Regions from separate parts of the Homo sapiens genome. Here all the other regions are linked to region 2. The links are contacts of gene promoters, found by promoter capture Hi-C in blood cells and fetal thymus (Javierre and others, 2016). All regions are on one chromosome and are shown on one strand. The core of a region is centred on a gene start or on the middle of the fragment in contact, and the rest is flanking DNA. Distances in the headings are between cores, read along the strand shown. Region 1 overlaps CDC14A (cell division cycle 14A). Region 2 holds the start of RTCA (RNA 3'-terminal phosphate cyclase). Region 3 overlaps CDC14A (cell division cycle 14A). Region 4 overlaps CDC14A (cell division cycle 14A).

The links. Contacts are between HindIII fragments. The CHiCAGO score rates a contact against its expected background, and 5 or more counts as called.
Region 1: a contact is called between a fragment that was not itself captured here and the fragment with the promoter of RTCA in region 2, in 8 of 17 cell types (total CD4 T cells, total CD8 T cells, non-activated CD4 T cells and 5 more). The highest score is 12.3, in total CD4 T cells.
Region 3: a contact is called between a fragment that was not itself captured here and the fragment with the promoter of RTCA in region 2, in 1 of 17 cell types (total CD8 T cells). The highest score is 5.1, in total CD8 T cells.
Region 4: a contact is called between a fragment that was not itself captured here and the fragment with the promoter of RTCA in region 2, in 3 of 17 cell types (non-activated CD4 T cells, total CD4 T cells and total CD8 T cells). The highest score is 5.4, in non-activated CD4 T cells.

What each region holds. Positions count from the first base shown.
Region 1 is chr1:100,456,167-100,459,184 of GRCh38, reverse strand. The region is part of intron 8 of CDC14A (cell division cycle 14A); the gene reads right to left. Among named protein-coding and RNA genes, the nearest start is that of GPR88, 80 kb to the left of the region's middle. The HindIII fragment of the contact is 1,672 bases long and covers 613-2,284 here.
Region 2 is chr1:100,264,496-100,267,663 of GRCh38, reverse strand. It overlaps RTCA (RNA 3'-terminal phosphate cyclase), which reads right to left and starts at 1,448. Exons shown (of 11, transcript NM_003729.4): 1 at 1,244-1,448; 2 at 1,040-1,140. The coding sequence starts at 1,288. It overlaps RTCA-AS1 (RTCA antisense RNA 1), which reads left to right and starts at 1,490. Exons shown (of 3, transcript NR_110435.1): 1 at 1,490-1,660; 2 at 1,747-1,835; 3 at 2,417-2,922. RefSeq lists enhancers at 1,280-1,639, 1,208-1,757. The HindIII fragment of the contact is 11,806 bases long and covers 1-3,168 here.
Region 3 is chr1:100,503,690-100,506,838 of GRCh38, reverse strand. All of the region lies in intron 15 of CDC14A (cell division cycle 14A), which reads right to left. Among named protein-coding and RNA genes, the nearest start is that of GPR88, 33 kb to the left of the region's middle. The HindIII fragment of the contact is 1,657 bases long and covers 953-2,609 here.
Region 4 is chr1:100,476,213-100,479,440 of GRCh38, reverse strand. The region is part of intron 10 of CDC14A (cell division cycle 14A); the gene reads right to left. Among named protein-coding and RNA genes, the nearest start is that of GPR88, 60 kb to the left of the region's middle. The HindIII fragment of the contact is 1,027 bases long and covers 968-1,994 here.

The DNA.
Region 1 (3,018 bases), core at 199-2,698, 190 kb before region 2:
TGCCTCAAATGGTCGGGATTCTCAGTCTGAAGCTATCTTTCTCTCTCTCTCTCTCTCTGTGTGTGTGTGTGTGTGTGTGTGTGCGTGTGTGTGTGTGTTTAAATAGAAGTGAGAATGACAGTGACACTTAAGAGACATTTTTACAGAAAATCTGAAATCCAAAATATCTGTTTCATTCTGCTGTTATCCATCATTTATCAATTCAAAAATGTTTAACAAAAAAAAGTAGGGCTCTTCTCTTCCCCACTGTCAAAACAATGTGAATCAAAATGGCTAAAAGAAACTCCTAGTGTTCCCTATTGACACAAACACACACTTAAGGCTCTTATAATACATTCTGCCCAGATCCCAAGATTTTAGAGCTTCCTTTAGCTACCTCCTAGCAACAGCTACTTGATCACTTCTTTAAAACCTCAGCTTTTCTAACGAGCCTCTAAAATGACTTTCAGCCTCCTCAGAAAAACACAGGTTTCTCAATTCAAAAAAAAAAAAAAATTACCAAGACGTCACTGTAATTGGATCAGGTTTATTAATTCCATCACAAAATTATTTTCTCAACTTCAAAAAGCATTTACAAAGTTAAAGTACTTTACAAAAAAGTATAGTGAAGCTTCTAGTGAATATTAGATCTTAAAATGGAAATTCCAGTAAAATAGCAATATTTTACCAATGGCAGCCTTAAATGAAATTGTTCTAGGCATCATAAAAGCTGACAAAGGTGAGATAAATGTACTTTCAGATTTTTTTATGTCAATATGACAGGGCACAATACATGCATAGAATAAAATATGCATATAGAGCGATATCTTAAAGTGATTATTTCTTGATTATATGATGTTTTTAAAGAGTTTTACTCTTTATATTACTTAAATTTTCTAGAGTGAGCATGTACATCCTCTATAATAAAATTTAAAACAACACAAAATTCAGAATTAAACAGACCAATGTTTGAATCCACACGCCAACAATTACTGGCCTATGAACCTGGACAAGTTAGGTAATTCCTGTAAGCCTCCAGCTTCTCTTCTATAAAATAAATACCACCTGCTCCAGAGGGTTGTTCTGATCATTAAATAGATGATGTATATGCAAGAGGCTTAGCACCCTTCCTGGCAGGTAAGCGAATGGTGGCTATAATTTTTTCCCCATATTAAATATAGGACCAAAAATTGTTTTAAATATTTTTGACACTTATAACTTATTATACAAAATTGCGTATCCTTTTATCTAGTGATTCTATTTCTAACAATTTAGAGAAGAAACTACAGCTGCAAAAAGATGTATGAACATTTATGCCAACCACAGCAGTTTTTAAAAAGTGAAAAACTTCATCTGGTTAAATAGATGATGAAATTTAAAAAGGAAAAAAAGAGTAAGAATAAGAGATAAACAACTTAGATCTCATCCAAAAATAAATTAACAGGCTGGGCTCAGTGGCTTAAATCTGTAATCCTAGTGCTTTGGGAGGCAGGAGGATCACATGAGCCCAGCAGTTCAAGACCAGCCCGGGCAACATAGAGACCTCATCTCTACTAAAAATTAAAAAAAAAAAAAAAAACCAGCCAGGTGTGGTGGGCTGTGCCTTGTAGTCCCAGCTACTTGGGAGGCTGAGGCAGGAAGATCATTTGAGGACAGGAGTTCAAGGTTGCAATGAGCTATGATCACACCATTGCACTCCAGCTTGGGCAACAAAGCAAGAGCCTGTCTCTAAATAAACAAAAGCAAAAACCAAAAATAAATTAACACAATATGGCACAGTCATATGGTAGAACAAAATGCAATGCAGTCGTGGAAAATGATTACATGGATCTTCATTTACTGCTATAAAAAGAAGTCGTGATATGTTAAGTGAAGAAACCTGGCTGTAAGATATTAACTATGTTATGATGCCACTTTTGTTAAAAAAAAATTTTTTTCAAAATGCATGTATCCATAGAATATACAATGTCTATATACATAAAAACTTTTAAATGGCTTTTACAATTATATCTCTCAATTTCTCATTAAGAAAACGTAGTCAAACACATGAATCACAAATGGTGAAAGTCTTTCGACTTTGCCAAATACCCAACAACAAAACTACTACTGAAACAATATCCCTACTAACATTTCCTGGGCCTGAGTCAGATAATTTGCACAGAAAGCAGGTTTAATCAGTCTTATCTTGAAAGGCCAATTGTCAGAAAGCAGTTTCCTCAGGCTCTCAACATGTAATTCCTAACAACCCAAAATGACAGAGGTTAATTATTGAATGTCCAGACCAAAAAAGATTATTTAGCAAGCTTATAAGTAAGAAGATCAAATTCTGACTTCACCATAGAGGTATCCTGTTTGTGAGCTTAACTCTCTAGACCTGGATTGCCCATTCGCATGGTAAAATCATGATTCAAGCAGAGTTCCCTATTAAATATGTCACAGGTATGAAATGATAAGCATATTTATGAAAGCTCAAATTATAAAACCTAAATGCATGAATAACAATATACAATGAAACTAGATTCTAGAATATGATGATTAAAGAAAAATAAATCTTTTTTTTTTTTTAAGAGACAGGGTTTTGCTATGTTGCCGAGGCTGGTCTTGAACTTCTGGCCTTAAGCAATCCTCCCACCTCAGCCTTCCAAAGTGCTGGGATTGCAGGCACATGCCACCATGCCCAGCTGAAGAATAAATCTAGACCAGAGGTTTCAAGTTAGGTTCCCTCAGAACACTGGTATTCCACCTCTATGATCAGATAGAAAAAAAAAGGGGGGGGGATATTTTGTTCATGGATATTTTTTCAATTTTATGTACTTCTCTTGTAAATTATTCTTGAACCTCTGTTGTCTATCATTACTTGTTTTCTAGGGAATATTAGTAGATAGAAAAAATTAGTAAGTACAAAATAAGTCTTAATGGGAAAACTTGCATAGCTGATCATGTTTCATTCAAAAGGTTTATTTTTAGTTTTGTTTTTATTTTTTTCCTAAATATGTATGCCCATGGCAATAAATTATGCTGCAAATAAGTAGTTTAACC
Region 2 (3,168 bases), core at 199-2,698:
AAAAAAAAAAAACTAGAACATACAGAGACGCTAGGGGCAAGGTACACAGAGGAACCACCATGTGAAGAGGCAAAAAGACAGGCCTGGAGCAGATCCTTTTCTCATGGCTCTCAGAGGAAACCAACCTTGTCAGGACCTTGATCTTGGACTTCCAGCCTCCAGAACTGTGAGGAAATAAATTTCTGTTGTTTAAGCTCCACTCTGTGTGTGGCATTTTGTTATGGCAGCCCTAGCAAACTAATACAACACCTACAGCCTAATGAATTGGATTCCCCTGTTGGTGAACTGGAGGGCTGCAAACTATGACAAAGGCAATTAACATTAACATATCAGTAATTGCCTTTTGGTAATTTCAAAACTGTAGACAAAAGACTGAGACCGCTGATTTATTAAAATGTAATAAATACAGAATACATACAAAGCAATCAGTGTGGCTTCAAACCTGGGTCCTCTTCTAGCAGGTGCATGTACCTGAAGCTCAACTAGTGGCATGCCCAGCTACCCAGACAGAAGAAATAAGGTCAAATGTCAAGGTGTTTCCCTCTCCACAACAGATAATTCTGGTCATAACAGCTCTCTGGAGGTATGAATGAAGGCTGGGATAACACATCTCAGGATTCTTTCCTGTTTTATGATTCTAAAACTGACAGCAGAACCAGAATGCACTGGTTATAAAACAGGGTTTCCTCTGGCGTCACAAGCATTTCTGCCCTATCTATCTTGCCAGCTCATACGTGCTGTTCGGATATTTGGAATGCCCGGTGAGGTGAGAAAACATTTTAAAAGCTAGCTCTTCAGCAAATGACACTATTTAGTCAAACAGAGAAAACTCGAGACCATTTCTAAACTCACCCCTCCAGGCTTTCAAGACTTTACAACCCAGGCCACCGCCCAGGCAGAGTGCCCCGCCCTGGATCGCCCATACCTGCGTCTGGGACCTTCTGGGTTCCACCACTCGGACTCCCGATGCCCCAGCCCGGCAGCCCGACCCCCCGATCCCCCAGCTTCACGGCCCAACTCCCCCTCCAGCCAGATTTACCTCAGGCCTGGCGTGCTCCGGCCGGCTCGGATCTTCTGCACCCGCAAGGGGAGGCCTAGGAGACAGCTCAAGGCCGTAGAGACTCTCAGGATCTGGCCGCCCTGCAAAGGTTGGGGTACAGGGAGAAGAGAAGTAAGCACACCGGTGGTGAGAGCTCCCCTCCTTAGTTAGGCTGCAGCCCCGGCCGCTTCGCTCTGTACTCACCCCTTCCATGATGCTGCCATCGACCTCCACCCGCGGCCCCGCCATGGGGGACACCCTGGGGCCCAGCCCGCAGCGACAAAGCCTCCGCCAGAGCGGGAGAAAGAAGAGACGTTGGCTCCCGCCCAGTAGTTCAGAAACCTTGGTTCATGCCTGGGGCGCAGGAGCCTGACGAGAAAGCGGAAGAAGCGGCGCCTCTCGGGACACTGGAGTCAGCAGAAACGAACCCCCGGGTTCGCCCAGTTCCGCAGTCAGTGCGCATGCGCGTAGCTCGGCTTAAAGGAGCCGCGCTGGGAACACTGCGGTCGGGGCGAGGAAGCTGCCGGGGAAGTGAGATGACGGTCGCGGGGGTGCCCAGGAGCCCTGAAAAACTTGTGCCCTGGGCACGGCAAAATCTGCAGGTTGCAGAAAGTCTCAACTGTAAGATAACTCCTCCAGTTATCCCGCAGGCTTGTGCTTTATCTCTGTTTTGTGGGTAAATATGTGTTTATATCTGTTTTCTCGAGGATCCTGGCATACCCCGAGGTGCCGACTTTTAGAGCTGAAGATGCAAGAAAGATTGGGATCCTGCGATGCACCGAACCTGTCTCTCGAAGTGTGTGCGCCCTGGTACATTGATACTCTTGGCCTTTGGTTCCTTGCGGTGTGCGTGTTTGTGTATGCGGAGTGTGTTATCTTTCTTTCTAGGGTGACACACCATTTATTTGAGAGGCGGGAAAGGCAGAATCACTAGTTTAATATTCTGAAAAGCCAAAGTTATGCCATTTTGCTTGAGAGTGAGTGCAAGCTCTTGACTCCCAGGAACAGTGCAGCTAACAATTCACCTCAGGCGAGGGCAGAAGCAATAGCCAGCTTCTTGGTTCTGCCTGTGGCTCAGTTCCTACATAATTGAGTACCAAATAATATGTAAACCTCTAGGGAAGCAAAAAAGAGTAATTCAGCTTCTACCCCCGAAGTTATTGGAGGTATAATGGAGAGACTGAGACGTAATCAATTACAATGTCATCCTCAATAATAATTAACATGTACTGTATTTAGAGTTTATTATGGGGACAATTACAATATATTAATAATATACTGTAACAATAACAGGCAACACTTATTGAGCACTTAGGTGTTGTGCACTGCATGCATTCATAACATGATAAAGTACTTACTGTTTTTACTGTTTTACAGCTTCCTGTGTTAAACAATTTGCTACAAGGTCACACAATTTTAACTAGAAGACTGAGATGTGAACCTGGGTGGTCTGATGTGAACACCACTGTCTGGTAATCCCAACGCTCTGCTGCTTTGCGACAGAGAATGTTTTAGGGAACACACAGACTATGTACTTAACCAAATCTGGAATTTGCCGTAAGATATTAATCAGAGAAGTAATGATACTTGCATTTTAAAATGAAGGCTTTGGCAGTAGGAGAAGGGTGAATAAGAGGCTTAAGAGCCTGAAGGGAGAAATGCCAATGATACAATTATCCAGCAAGAAATAATCAGAAGTTGAAGTAAGGCAATGATGGTAGGGATGGAATATAAAAAAGCTGTACCCCTATCTGACATCTTTATTGGGGGAACCCGCCCCCAATATTTCAACGTAGGTTCTTTCTATTTTCCATAAGTGTTGGCCAGCTGAGAAATAAAGAGAGACAGTATAAAGAGAGGAATTTTACAGCTGAGCCACCGGGGGTGACATCACATATCGGTAGGACCATGATGCCCGCCTGAGTCTCAGACCAGCAAGTTTTTATTAAGGGTTTCAAAAGGGGAGGGGGTGTAAGAACAGGGAGTAGGTACAAAAGTACAAAGATCACATGCTTCAAAAGGCAAAAAGACCTTACTACTAGTAAGGGTCTAACAAAGATCACATGCTTCTGAGGGAACAGGACAAAGGGCAAAAGCAGAACTACTTATAAGAGTCCAACAAAGATCAC
Region 3 (3,149 bases), core at 532-3,031, 240 kb before region 2:
AAGATGCAAGATTAAAATAAGACTCTTTTCTATTGACCTAGTAGTATTATTGACACTACATAAGAAAGTATAAAATTAAGCTGAACAACCAGGGTGATTCATAACTCTAATACATTGAAAATATAAATTAATCCTTACCTATTATATATTTCTGATCAACCTTATCACTTAAAGCAAGTTTTATGTTTTCAAGTCTTTTCAAATGTACAGTCAAAAACAGCTGACAGGTTTTATACAGAAAAGTAACATAAACTACTATTTAACACTGGAAACTTAAATTATAGTTACATATATCTACAAATACTGCAAACATATAAACAGTTTATGTGCATATTTAAAGGCATCATCCGAACCATGCTGACCTCATAACAATTTGATGCTTTGTCAAGTAGCATTCTCAGGTCCCCTTGGGAAGGGAAAAAAAATCGCAATGTTGAATGAAGGCCAAAGATGTGGTTCAATACTGAGATTGAGCTCATGTTCTTGATATGTAGTTAGTATCCCTTAGCTGAAAACTTACATCAAATCTAAAGCAATGCCACAACAAAGAGGAAGGATGAAAAACCACAGCAACATAAATATACAACAAGAGGATAGAAAGCTAGTACCTTTAACTGTAATAAATATTAACACCTAGTTAATATTTAACAATATTAATATGAATTAATAAATGAATATTGATATAGTTTGGATGTTTTATCCCCTCCAAATGTCCTGTTGAAATGTGACTCCAGTGTTGGAGGTGGGGCTAGTGGGAGGTACTTGGGTCATGGCGGTGGATCCTTCATGAATGGCTTTGTGCTGTCCTCCCAGTAATGAGTGAGTTCCCACTCTATGAGTTCACATGAGATCTGGTGGTTTAAAAGAGCCTCGCACATCCTCCCTTTCTCTTGTTCCCTCTTGCCATGTGATACACAAGATCCCCTTTTGCCTTCCACCATGATTGTAAGCTTCCTGAGGACTCACGCAAAGCCAAGCAGGTTGTTGGTGCCATGCTCGTACAGCCCACAGAATTGTGAGCCAAATAAACCATTTTTCTTTATGAATTACCCAGCCTCAGGTATTTCTTAATAGCGACAAAAGCAGACGAATAAAAATGTCCTATTTAAAATCAGGACAAGATGACCAATTTTTAAAATGGAGAACAGGCAGAGGGAAAAGACAACAAGTTGATATCGGGAAACACTACTACATACCACTGGAAAGTATCAGCACTTTACTGGGAATGGATATTCAAACAATCAGTAAGTAGCTTATCACTGTCAGCACTAACATTATCCCAAAGTACAAATGAACCATGCTTTAGTGCACTGCCAATCACTCAGATTTTCATCAAACTGGTTATTTTATAAAGCTAGATTCTAATATTTTGATCTCATTCCAGGTCCTACTTTAAGGACCAATAATTCCTTAAAACACATACGTATTCTGCCTGATGTTAGAACACAGAAGAACTTAACCTATTCATAGGCTACCAAGATTGTTCTTACGTTTGTCAAATTTGAGGTGGAAAACATCCAGAGTCTTCATAACCAAAGAGCAGCATTAACCAACTGAGTATAAAAATGCTACTAACACTAGAAAAGAGAACTACATTTAAGCCAACTTCAACTATCATATAAGAATGCTGAGGGAAAGTAGGAAGCACACAATATTTCATTTCCATTTTGCTTTCAACTTTCAACCAAATGAGTATTTTAATTTTTAATTCCCTCCTGTGACCGGTACTGTGTTAGAAACCATGAACTATAAAAGAACTTTTTGAAATGTCTGCAAAAGAAGTTTAAATTTGGAGACAATTCTTACATACACAGACAATATGTAAACAAATATAGATGTTCATGTATATAATAGCATACATGATAAAATAAAGTATTAATTATAGGGTGGATTCCACTTACTGGGGAGAGCTTCACAGAAGACATGGGAGGTAATATATGTCTTTATTTAAAGATGAGAAATTGGTAAGGAGAGCAGGGGGCTTCCAAGAAAGGGCTTCCTAAAGACTAGCAGTAGGCATGAACACTGTGGGAGAAGAAAACAAGAGAATAAGCAAGGTAAATGCTGGTGCAAAGATACAATACTACAGAAATGCAGTACAGAGGGCCTGAAAGCTCAACAAAGAAAGTCAGTATTTATGTTCTAGCACTAAGGGACCACTGGTCATTTCTGAACAGGGAAATAAGATGTTGAAATCTATATCTCTTATCTGGCAATGCTTTAAAGCAGGGGTTGGCAAACTGCAGCTCACTATCCAAATGCAACCCACCACCTATTTTTGTTAATAAAGTTTTATTTAATATTAGCCACACTTTTCGTTTATGTATTGAGTTGAATAGTTGGGACACAAAGCTAAAAATCTTTACTATCTGGCCCTTTACAGAAAAAGTTTGCCAACCCTACTTTAAAGTAAGAATTAAAGGTGGAAAGAGACAAGTTAGGAAGATCATCAAAGACTCAAACACAACAGGGATGAGGAAGCAACTGAATGGAGAAGAAAGGAAAAATTCCAAGAGACAATGGCACCACTGACATTACCTACAACCTTCACTATGAGAATATCCCTGCAAATGTTTGAAGATTAAGATAGAAGAGTGCATAACAAAGCTTATTACAGGCTATAATAAGTTTCACTTATTTGTATAGTTTTATTATTAAAGCTACAGAGCATTCATTCATTTAACCATCCATCATTTTATCCAATCAACAAATACTTAATGAGTGCCTAATATATGCCATGCACAGGGCACATAACTATAAAAACCAGAGGCACCATCCCTGCCCTCACAAAGCATATAGTCTAGTGGATTATGCAAATTCTGAGTGAAAAAGAGTATTCTGATTTAGACCAAGGTGGGATGTAGAGAGGCTTATGGGAGAAGCAACATGAACTAACTCAGAGTTGGGGGTCAGGTAAGGTCAATGTAGATGACTAGTAATCCAGTGATTAAGTGTCATAAAAATAAAGCATAGCAAATATTCAAGACAGATACCACAAGTAATTTCAATTTAATAAAATACTTCCACCCCACCTACACCATAATCACATGTCCCTCATTTCTTAAGCATTTGAAAACTCCTCTGAGTGTCAGGGAGTGAAACTCATTTTTTACAGTAAGTGGGTCAACAAAAATGTAACCTTGTGTGTG
Region 4 (3,228 bases), core at 232-2,731, 210 kb before region 2:
AGAAGGTGGGGTCGGGGACAAGAGAGATTAAAAAGCTACATATTGGGTACAATGTACAGTACTTAGGTGATGGGTGCACTAAAATCTCGGAGTTCATGCTATACAATTCATCCATGTAACCAATAACCACTTGTATCCCAAAAGCTATTGAAATTTAAAAAAGAATTAACTTTTTTTAAAAGGAAATGATAGAAGTCAATCTCAACTAAAACTCAAACCATTAGTGTTAGACTTTTTCAAGCATTTTCCATTTTCTAAACAGATGTTTTTCATCTTATTTTTGCTAATTCCTGAAATAAAAAAGCAATGGTTTAACTATTAATTTCTGATCTAGCTCAATCCAATTGTGAAACTTACGAAATACTATTGGCACCAAATTAAGATGTAGCCTAAGTTGATATTTACAGAGTAAGGATGAGCCAAACACCCTTGTTATTGAATATGGTTCAGGGACCAGCAGCAGCACACCACCTGGGAGCCTGTTAGAAATGCACACTCTCAGGTCTCACCTCAGACCTGCTGAATCAGAGACTGCACTGAACAAGATCCCCCAACAATTCCTAGGCATTTTCATGTTTGAGAAGCACTGAAGACAATGGAAGGCTTGCAACAAAGTTAGAATTCTGAAAATATCCAACTCAGTAGAAGCTGATGAAAACATCTATTGTAATAAAGTAGAACAGGGGAATTTTTGGTTTATGGATTTAAGAATGAAAAAGAGTTCAACCATAATACTGTGCTTCATAAAGATAACCTCATTCAAAATGGAAGCTCTGCTTTACAGAGCCAAAACTTCCTGCAAGAGCCAGATTTAGGCTTTATGTGAGTTCTCTCTGTCTCAGAAGGAAATGTAAAACAAAAACAATGCCATATTGAGCCCCATAAATAAAGGATCTCCGTGAGCTGAAAATCCCCGTGGGAGCCCCACACTAGTCCCTCAATGATCCCTTTATAATGAATGAAAGCTTTAACAGATGATGATCCCCGAGGTCACAGATAGATCTATCTGTGATATAGGTTATCTGTCACAGATAGATCTATCTATCTGTGATATAGGTTATCTATCACAGATAGATAATGATACCCAAGGTCAGGGGAACATTCACACAGCAAATGTTCAATAAATAGAATCAACCAAGTTGTAAAAGCAGCCTGACTCCACCTTTATACTTCTAAAGGTTGTCTCGGAGGACATTGAGTCCAGAGTTGGCTCAAAAACAAAAAGATGTATTTTTACATCATTTTAAGAACCTTGAGGATGTTTGATAGAAGACACATTTGGGATTCAGAATGGTATTTTTGGTTTAAGAACTTCAGCTTTAAATAGAAGAAAAACACCTGATGGTTGTTTTGCAAATAGAGAGCTTTATATCCTTTAAAAGTTTAAATATAAAATTTCAGACTGTAACAAAGGAGAGGTCAGCCAATAAGTAAATTCATCAACAACTCAAAAGGATGCTAATAAACATCTCTCTTACTGCCAGTGAATAAGAGGGCTGCTTGTTTAAGACATGGCAATCAAGCACCTGGACATATTTTGGTCCTCAAGGACTAGGAGGATATGACAAACCAGCCTTTCTAAAGTCAGAGATTTGGAATTAACATTCTCTAAAAAGCACTGATTGACTTTTCACCTTTAAAAGAATACAATCACTTTAACTTGTTCAGTCATTTTTGACAGGTGAAAACCTAACAGAAAACGTTTTTACCCTCTTATTTCTTGCTTAATGAACACGTTACTTATTCATGCTTTTGCGTCATCATTGACTTCATACTCTTCATCTCTCTGATCATTAGTTAGTCTTCAAAGCCTTGTTTTTTTCTTTTTTCTTGAAATGTCCCTGGTACCCATCTCTAAATCTTCAGTCCAACTTCTATCCTCTTTTGATAAGTCCTTGTCTCTCTGAGATGGATGATAATAGCCTCCTTTTTAGCCTCTCTGATTCCAATCTCCATCCACCCAATTCATCTTACACATTGTTGCAACTCAAGCTTCCTTAAATAACACTTAAGTCACACGACTCCTCTATATGCTCTTATTCATCATACTTTCTAATTTGGAGTATTTGGAATTAAATACTCCAAATTAGAAAGTATGATGAATAAGAGAAGTTCAGAATATGCATGTTCATCACTAGGATCTGCATCTCCTGCTGTACATATTTGCTATCTATACAAAGCAGATGTATTAATTTCCTATGGATATTGTAAAGCATTACCGTAAATGTGGTGGTTTAAAAGAACACCAGTTTACTTTCTTACAGATCTGGAGTTGGAAGTCTGAAATCAGTTTCACTGAGCTAAAGCAGTGACAGTAGGCAGAGCTGGTTCCATATGGAGGCTTTGAGGAGATAATTTGTTTCCTTGCCTTTTTCAATTTACAGTGGCTGCCCATATTCCTTGGCTTATGGCTCCTTACTCCATCTTTAAAATGCATCAGTCCAATCTGTTTCAGTCATCACATCGGCTTCTCCTCTAAATGGCTCCCCCTGGGTCCCTCTTCTAAGGACACTGTGATTAATTGGGCCCACCCAAACAATCCGGGATAATCTCCCCACATCAACTTCCTTAACTTAATCACTTCTGCAAAGTCCCTTTTTCCATATACAGTAACATTCACAGCTGGTTCACAGGGATTAAAATATGCCTGTATTTGGGGAGACATTATTCAGACTGCCACAGCAGATTTCATGCCGAAAATTATAGGCAGACTAATTACCTTAAAATATAAGGCAATAACACCATTTCTGGAAAATAAAGTAGATGTACTTTTCCCTATTCTTCCCATAAGTAAAATTTAAAATCCTATATATATTTAAAAAAAAAAACAAGACTCTGAAAAATAGAAAAGAAAAAGGCAGATTGGTTGGAACCTTGAGACCTAAGTAACGAAATGGTGGTGAGTTCCTCGAGTTTTCCTTTTGCCTTATATAGCCTAGTCTTAGGGCTGAAGAAGATATGATTCAAAAATGCCAATAGAGCTGATTTTTTTTTCAACAGAGTCCTGCTGTGTCGCCCAGGCTGGAGTGCAATGGCACAATCTCGGCTCACTGCAACCTCTGCCTCCAAGGTTCAATTGATTGCTTCAGCCTCCGAAGTAGCTGGGATTACAGGCACATGCCACCATGCCCAGCTGATTTTTGTATTTTTAGTAGAGACGGGGTTTCACCACATTGATCAGGCTGGTCTCAAACTCTTGACCTCATGCGATCTGCCCGCCTCGGCCTC